Regions from separate parts of the Homo sapiens genome. Here regions 2 and 3 are each linked to region 1. Evidence: promoter capture Hi-C in human tissues and cell types (Jung and others, 2019). All regions are on one chromosome and are shown on one strand. The core of a region is centred on a gene start or on the middle of the fragment in contact, and the rest is flanking DNA. Distances in the headings are between cores, read along the strand shown.

What was found. Contacts are between HindIII fragments. The study calls those that stand out against the background at their distance.
Region 2: a fragment that was not itself captured here is called in contact with the fragment with the promoter of NENF in region 1 in 5 of the 25 tissues and cell types used here (IMR-90 fibroblasts, adrenal gland, aorta and 2 more).
Region 3: a contact is called between a fragment that was not itself captured here and the fragment with the promoter of NENF in region 1, in 3 of the 25 tissues and cell types used here (IMR-90 fibroblasts, hippocampus and lymphoblastoid cells).

What each region holds. Positions count from the first base shown.
Region 1 is chr1:212,431,529-212,434,341 of GRCh38, forward strand. It overlaps NENF (neudesin neurotrophic factor), which reads left to right and starts at 1,392. Exons shown (of 4, transcript NM_013349.5): 1 at 1,392-1,592. The coding sequence starts at 1,416. LOC105372906 (a long non-coding RNA gene) reads right to left here and starts at 1,289. Exons shown (of 3, transcript XR_922577.4): 1 at 1,097-1,289; 2 at 213-316. RefSeq lists a silencer at 1,178-1,737 and an enhancer at 1,898-1,987. The HindIII fragment of the contact is 24,294 bases long and covers 71-2,813 here.
Region 2 is chr1:212,276,870-212,279,682 of GRCh38, forward strand. All of the region lies in intron 1 of LINC02608 (long intergenic non-protein coding RNA 2608), which reads right to left. Among named protein-coding and RNA genes, the nearest start is that of LINC02608, 6.7 kb to the right of the region's middle. The HindIII fragment of the contact is 7,141 bases long and covers 1-2,813 here.
Region 3 is chr1:212,294,084-212,296,896 of GRCh38, forward strand. All of the region lies in intron 1 of PPP2R5A (protein phosphatase 2 regulatory subunit B'alpha), which reads left to right. Among named protein-coding and RNA genes, the nearest start is that of PPP2R5A, 10 kb to the left of the region's middle. The HindIII fragment of the contact is 9,503 bases long and covers 1-2,813 here.

The sequences.
Region 1 (2,813 bases), core at 142-2,641:
ATTTTAACTACTATGCTCTGCGACTTGCCCTGATTCTTTGCCGTGGACGTCTAAGAACCTGCTCTTGGGTCTGGAATGAGACCCTTTTTCTGTTAATTCCTCTATTCCAGTCTTGAAAGTAAAAGCCAGTCTTGAAAATAACCTGTGAAGCCCCCAAGATCCACCCCCACTCCCTTACCCGCTTCCTTCCTGACTTCACCTACCCCTCTTACCTTCCCTTGATCCTCCAGCAAGCCGGGCATCCTCATTCCTCCGCATTTATGCACCTGATCCTTTGACCAAAGTGCTCTTCCCTCTAGACCGCCTCCTTCGCCTCCTGTAGATTTTTATGCAAATACCCTGTTCTCAGTGAGGCCTTCCCTAACCTGCCTATTTAAAATGACCATCCCCATAACCGGGCACCGTTCCTCACACCTGTAATCCCAGCACTTTGGGTGGATGAGGTGGATGGTTCACTTGAGGCCAGGAGTTCGAGACCAGCCTGGCCAGCATATAGTGAAACCTCATCTCGACTAAAAATTAAAAAAAAAAAAAATTAGCCAGGCGTGGTGGTGGGTGCCTGTAATCCCAACTACTCTGGTGGCTGAGGCAGGAGAATCACTTGAACCCGGAAGGTGGAGGTTGCAGTGGGCCGAGATGGCGCCACTGCACTCCAGCGTAGGCGACAGACTCCGTCTCAAAAATAAATAAATACATAACAATAAAATAAAATAAAATGTCCATCCCAGTGCTCCCTATCTCTTTGCCCTACTTTTTCTCCCTAGTATTTACCACCATCTAACATACTACTTAGCATCTTATTGTCTATCTGCCCACACAATGTAAGCTTCACGTGGGCGTGGATCTGTCTTGTTCAGTGGTGAGTCCCCAGTGACCTGGTACATGGAGGTACTCAAAAATATTTGTTGCATAAAGTAATGAGCAAAGTTTGGCACAAATGTTAGCTATTATTATTTCAGGGCGTATCGGTAACAGCACCCTACCCTTTGCAAAAATCTCCTTGGGAACCAGAAACTTAAACACAACCAGGAAGAAAAAAAATCAGCCAAAAATAAAAGCGAATTAAGACAGTTGGGGTCTTATTTTAGAAATATACCTTTCTAGGTTCTGGTATGTTGGGCTCTGTCATCTTTCTACCTGATCAAGGAACCACTGTGACATTTTTTGGTAACTTCCAGTCTGTAGTTTGGATTTAGGAGTTCAGGATTCCAATCCTAATTTCCAGGTTCCAGCTGCGTGGCCCGAGTAGCCCGGCCAGCCCCACCCCGGGGCGCAGGAGGCGCGCGAAGGGCGGGAGTTCTCGGGTCCCCGCCCTCGGGGAGGCTCTGGGCGCGGGGCGGGACTCCGGGACGCTGGGCGGGCGTGCTAGGGCCCCGCCGCCCTGGCCCGGCCTTGCCTTGCGCTGCGCGCTCACCATGGTGGGCCCCGCGCCGCGGCGGCGGCTGCGGCCGCTGGCAGCGCTGGCCCTGGTCCTGGCGCTGGCCCCGGGGCTGCCCACAGCCCGGGCCGGGCAGACACCGCGCCCTGCCGAGCGGGGGCCCCCAGTGCGGCTTTTCACCGAGGAGGAGCTGGCCCGCTATGGCGGGGAGGAGGTAGGCGGGGGTGTCGCGGGCCGAGGGACCCGGGGTGGCGTCCGATCTGCGGCGAGCCGAGCGGGGACCCAGGAGGCGCCGGCGGCCCAGGAAGCTCTGGGGGACGCGCGGCCCGCGGCGGGCGCCCTGGGCCGGCGGGGGGCCTCCTCTCTCTAGGCCCCGAAGGATGGCCGAGGGGTGAGGACGAGTCCTCAACAGTCGGAGCGCTCCGCTTTGCCCGCACACCCCACCCTGAACTTCTCCCTCGGTCCCCGGGAGATTTCCCCTCTAGCCGCCTTTTCGTTGATGATCTGCGTACAGACCTCAGAACTTTTTGGTTTTCATGTTAGCATCAGCCGAGGCGTTTACTGTGCCCACGCATAGTGGGGAGTGGCGGGGGACGGAGGGAGGGAAGCAGAGCCTGCTCCCTGGGTTAGGTGGGAATTGAGACAGGTCCTGGGATAAGCCAGTCTTTGCCTGCACTTCCTTTTCCTGCCCCTGTATCCCAGGCCTCTGCATCGGACTCCTCAAACCCACTTTTAGGTCATGTACCCCTGGGGCTCAGCCAAAGCTGGAAGTGAGCGCAGAGGGTGGACTGGAGGTTAGAGACCCCCACAACCCCCCCGCCACACGTCAATAGAGACCCCCCCGCCCACACACACCCACACACGTCAATAGTCTAGAGGCGTCCAGAAAACTCACAACCACCTGCCCACCTGGGTTGGTTGGGACTGGAGCCGCACGACAAGGACCAACAGGGGGCTGATATTAGATGTGGAGCGGGGGAACGGCATTGGGGGGAGGTCATAGTACCATAGTATTTCAGAGCTGGCAGGAACCCATCTCCTGCTTTTACACATAAGGAAACTGAGGCCTGCCACCTGTTAGTGGTAGAGCAGGAAGAGGCCTGATGTTTTTCAAAACCCTCTGGCCTGGTCTCGCTAATTCCTGAGTTAATTGGCCTTATATGGACTAGGATTGCATGGGGGTATCAGAAACCTGGCCCTTAGTCAGTGATGCCAGTTTGGGCATCATTTGTGAAGGGGCCATTTAGAACCATGAGTCAGTGAGGACACCGAGGGAGGGAGACATGGCTGGGATGTGAGGATGTTAAGGGATGCCTTTTTGCCGGTAGCAGAGGGAACCAGATGGTTCAGAGTCCAGGCATCCGTGCAGAAAAGAATTAACATGGCAGGCCTGCTCTCCTTAGAAAAGCCTACTTGCAAGGGTGGGACTTGTCTA
Region 2 (2,813 bases), core at 79-2,578, 150 kb before region 1:
CTCTCAGGGTTCTGCACCTTATAAGTTATATTCCTACTGCTTGGAATGATTTCCTTTTTTTTTTTGTCTTCAGATGGATGAAAGCAGAAGACCACTTATATATTTACATAAAATATGCATAGTAGAGGAACATGAAGGAACCATATAGTACTTTTGCAATCATTGCTTTTTATGATATACCCAGAGGACAGTTATGTGTTGAAGTTAATCTCTACTTTTTCTTTGCTCATCCACTTCCAGGTCAAATTCTGATACAAGGTGTGGCATAATATATTCTCCTCTTGCAATGAAATTTTACTTTTTGGTAATAGTTGTGTGGAATAAGTAAATTCATTGAGATACAGAAATCTTCATAGTGATGGAGAAATGTGGTAAGCTAATTTCTGAATGGCAGGCATTTTTCTTCTTTTTTTGGTCTTCTCCATATGATAATTTTGTTTTGTTTCTTTTCTTTTCTTTTTTTTTTTTTTGAGATGGAGTTTTGCTCTTGTTGCCCAGGCTGAAGTGCAATGGCGTGATCTCGGCTCACTGCAACCTCCGCCTCCCGGGTTCAAGCGATTCTCCTGTCTCAGCCTCCCAAGTAGCTGGGATTACAGGCACATGCCACCACGCCCGGATAATTTTTATATTTTTAGCAGAGACGGGTTTTACCATGTTGGTCAGGCTGGTCTCGAACTCCTGACCTCAGGTGATCTGCATGCCTTGGCCTCCCAAAGTGCTGGGATTACAGGTAAGAGCCACTATGCCTGGCCTTTGTTTTGTTTCAAGACTGGTTTCAAACATTACTTTTTCTGTTAAATTTTCTCTTTCTTTCCAAACCAAATTAGATCCTATATTTCACTGTTTTGCCACACCATAAAAAATATTTCTGATAATTGTTTGTTCATTTGTTTATGTTGTCCCTCCTCACTAGATTGATTTTAAGGCCCATCCTTATCTACCTCTTCATTCCTAGTGACTGGCATATTGCCTGACAAACAGAAGGCACTTGGAAAGTGTTTGCAGGGTTGAATTAAAGTGTGGAGAGTTTGCTAACATCAGGTTCTTTCGTCCCACTCTGCAAGGGCAAGGGTATATTGGCATGAGTTGAGCCCCTTCAAACTATGTCCTGGTTCCTCATCTATACAGGTAAAGAAATGGGTAGACAAGGGGCTATTGAACATTTATGATTACAGCCCATTTAGATGGGGCAAAAGATTTCATAGTTATGGAAAGATGATTCAGTGATAATCAGAAAGTATAAATACAGGAGCAGGTTTTCGGGGATTAATAATACCTCTGCTGTATCAACAGCCCACATTCAGTCTATCTGCAAATCCTATATACTCCTCGTCCAAAATAAATCTCCAGTCTAGCCATCTCTACTGCCACTGGCCTAGTCTAAGCTCCTGGTTGACCAACACAATAGCCTGTACAATAGCCCACAACAAATGAGGTGAATCATAATAAGCTTAACTAAAAGAAGTTTAAAGTTAAAAAGCAAAAATGGCAGCAATTGAAAATCATGATGTCTAATCATATCAGTATGTTCTTGTGCTTGCAAAATGGCCAGATAGACAATATGGAATTAGAATTCTTTAAAAAGATCTAGAAAAGTAGATAGTAAAATGGTTACTCTAGTAAAGCAGATTAATAGATCTACCCTCTTACTTAGTTACCTTTTTGTGACAAGAGCAGCTATGATCTACTTATTTAACAAAAAACGCCTAATATAATACAATTTTTATTAACTTTCCTCCTACATTAGATCTCTAAACTTATTCATCTTACATACATGCTGTTTTGTATCCTTTGACCTACACCTCCCTGTTTCCTCTTCCTCACTGCATCCCACTGTTTCATTCTCTGTGTATTTGAACTCCTTTTTTTTTTTTTTAAAATCTACACATAAATGAGATCATGCAATATTTTTCTGTATCTGGCTTATTTCATTTAGCATAATGTCCTCTAGGTCCATCCATGTTGTGGCAAATAGCAGGATCTCCTCTTAGAGGGCTGAATAACATTCCATTATATATATATTATATATATAAAATGTGTCTGTATAATGCATATAATGCATGTGTATATATATATTATATATATAAATAATATCCCATTATACACACACACGTACATACCATTTTCTTTATATTTTCGTCTATTGATGGACATTTAGGTTGTTTCCATGTATTCCCTATTGTGCATAATGCTGCACTTAACATTGGGAATGCACATATCTTTACCAGTGGTATTTCATATTCTTTGGATATACATCCACTAGAAGGATTGCTGGGTCATGAGGTAGTTCTATTTTGAATTTCTTCAGGAACTCCATGCTGTTTTTCATAATAATTGTACCAATCTACATTCCCACCAATTGTGTACTAGGGTTCCCTTTTCTCTACACCCTCGCCAACATTTGTTGCCTATTGTCTTTTTGGTAATAGCTATCCTTATGGATGTGAACTGATATCTCCTAGTGGTTTTAATTTGCATTTCCCTGATGATAGTGATATCAAGTACATTTTCATATACCTGTTGACCTTTTTTTTTTTTTTTTGAGACAGAGTTTCACTCTTGTTGCTTAGGCTGGAGTGCAATGGTGCAATCTTGGCTTACTGCAACCTCCGCCTCCCGGGTTCAAGCGATTCTCCTGCCTCAGCCTCCCAAGTAGCTGGGATTACAGGGACCCACCATAATGCCTGGCTAATTTTTTGTATTTTTTTTTAGTAGAGACGGGGTTTCACCATGTTGGCCAGGCTGCTCTCGAACTCCTGAACTCAGGTGATCCACCCACCTCAGCCTCCCAAAGTGCTGGGATTACAGGCATA
Region 3 (2,813 bases), core at 141-2,640, 140 kb before region 1:
GCAGTTCAGTAGTATCAAATCTAAAATTGTATATTTTTTTTCAGCAGAACGCAGATTTTAAAAAATTGTATATTTTGTCTAATTGGTTTTGCCTTTGTTTCACATTGTATCAAGGATATTCCATAATTACAGCTATTACCATAAGTCAATGGTTATTTGAACTCATTGTTAATCCCCTGCCTCTAAATTGATAAAAGTGAAAAAGGGAAAAAGGTGAGACAGTTTTTGTTATAACTCCTGAATTTTAATTAGCAAAACTGGGTAGATTTTTAAAACAACTTTTCAGACAGGCTTTTCTGAAGAAAAATATCTATTGAAGTTAAAAGTAAAATAAGACATAACTTCTGTAGGAATGTTTCTAATTTTATTAAAACAAACAAAAACAACAACAAAAACGTGCCCTACCATTCTTCTTTAAATTGGTCAGTGGCAAAATATTTTGTTTGCTGTGAAATTAGACACACACTTTATTTTCAAAAATCTAGTACAGAAATCTTTTCCTTTCTTTGGTTTTCCATAGTGCATAAAATTTTGGTGAACCGCTGCAGAGATTAAAACTTAGTAAAGTGAAAACAATGAATGCTTTTTCTTTTAAATTTAATGTCTTTAGGAGTTTATAGTTGGTGAATACAGACTTGTAAGCAGGCAGTTGCAATTAATGTGTTCAGTGTCATGATAAGAATAAGCTCTAAAATGTTAAGGGAGTATGTGAAGGACTCAATCCCGTTTTAGTAGGGGAGGGGAGTGATCAGGGAAAGTTTCCTGGAGAAAGTGACAGGTAAACTGCCATCTAAAAGGCCAGAAGGTGTTAGGCCAAGATAGATGGGCTAAGAGGTCCACCCAAAAGACAATATATGGAGACCCAAAGGTAATTGAGCATAGCATATTTTGGGAATTACCAGCAGTTTACATAGCTGTGATCTAGAATATAGGTTACATTCTATATCTCTGTGGTATATTCTGTATCACTAGAGAAGTGGAACAGCATTTAGGGTCTAGTGCGTAATCTTGTTGCTATGTTGAAGAATGGATGTAGGCAATTTATTGCATTCATACCTGCCAGTAACATGAAGAACGTATTGGGAAATCAGAGTGAGTAACACTAGTGAGGATACTGACACAGTAATCCAGACAAGAGATAAAGGTGCTTGTCCAAGTGGGGATGGGGTGGTATCATAGGCAAAATCTGGTGAGAGGGAACAATCAACGATGATACATTTCTAACTTGGGCAACTGGATGTATGATAGCAGTTTATTGAAAGGGAAAAAAGACATTAGATTTGGGAGGAGAAGATAATGGTTCTTTGTTGGACAGGTCGAAGTGTCCATGGGAAATTGAAGTGAAGCTGCCTAGTAGGAAGGCGGATTATTTGGATATGGAGCAATGTGCTAGAGATAATTTGAGAGTCTTTGGCTTACATGTGGCATTTGGAGCAATGGAAGTAGAAGCAACTGCCCACTGAAAATGGATAGAATGAGAAGACTCCAAGGAATACCAACATTGAGATAATGGGTAAGGGAAAAAGGTACAACCAAGAGCCAAGAGAGACAGCTGGAGTGGAGGCCAAAGAAGACAGGAGAGAGTGGAGACAAGGCTGTCAGGGGAAGAGAGTCTTTAAAAACTGGGGGATGGGTGGGGAAAGTAGTAACAGTGGATAACTGTGGACAAGTCAAGTAAGAACTGAAAAGTTTCCGTGGGTTAGTCTTTAGGCAACATTGGTGACTTGAGAGGCGTTTGGAGGACTGATAATGTGAAATGAGATTTGTGTAAGGTGGATAATGAGTAGAAATTGTAAAAGCTGAGTGAGTAAGTATGGACAACTCTTTCAGAAAGTTTGGCAGTTAAAAATTACTATAGCTACTGGGTAGAGAATGCATTGTAGCAGAAGAAGATTTTTAGGAGGACAAGTTAGGAGATTAATAAGCCAGGTAAGACTTTATGTGACTTGGGCCTGGGTAGTAGCCCAAGATGGAGAGAAGAAGATGCATTTGAGATATATCTTAGATAGGACCTTGTTAATGAATTGTTTGGGAGGAGATGGAAAGGCAGAGGTGTAGGAGTCAAGGATGACTCTCACGTGCTTTAGCTTGGACACCTGGGTGGATAGGAATGTGTCCCACCACCGAGAAAGGAGTACACTGGAGGGGGAATCAGGTATAGAGGGAAAATCCAGAGTTGTATTTTGGAAATTTTAAATTTGAGATGCCATTTAGAAACCCAGTTATAAATATCAAATAGATCACTGCATATGTGAATCAAAGAGTGCCCATTTGTTAATTTCTATACATTAACTATATTCTTTACTAATGTCTTCTAAACATTAACTGTATTCTTTACATTAACCTTTACTGGCCTGCCAAGACTTTCAGATTTGCTTATAAGAAGACATTGATAGTTTGGGTTGCTGGCCACTTAGTCTCCTGGCCAAATTGGGATTATCTATTCCCTACTCTATAGAACATCTTCTGTGTACACTGCATGATAAGATGTCATTGTTATGTGCATGAAGGAGAGCACAAAATATGCCGGGACAAGTTGCCTGAATAAGGTTAAAGTGCCTGCTTTTTGTCTTTAGACTATAAGTGCTTTGAGACCCAAGACCATATTTTCCTACACAGGATTTAGATAGTCAATGCTGTTTTATATTTATTGAATGAAAGAATGAAGCAAAAGCTATTAAATTGATTGAAAGAAAAACATCATTTATATCATACAATAATTTACAATTTTAGGGTGATTTATAACTGAGTAATGTTTACCTGCAACACTAAACTGGTTAGCATTTTATAGGTGAAGAAACCAAAACCTAGGT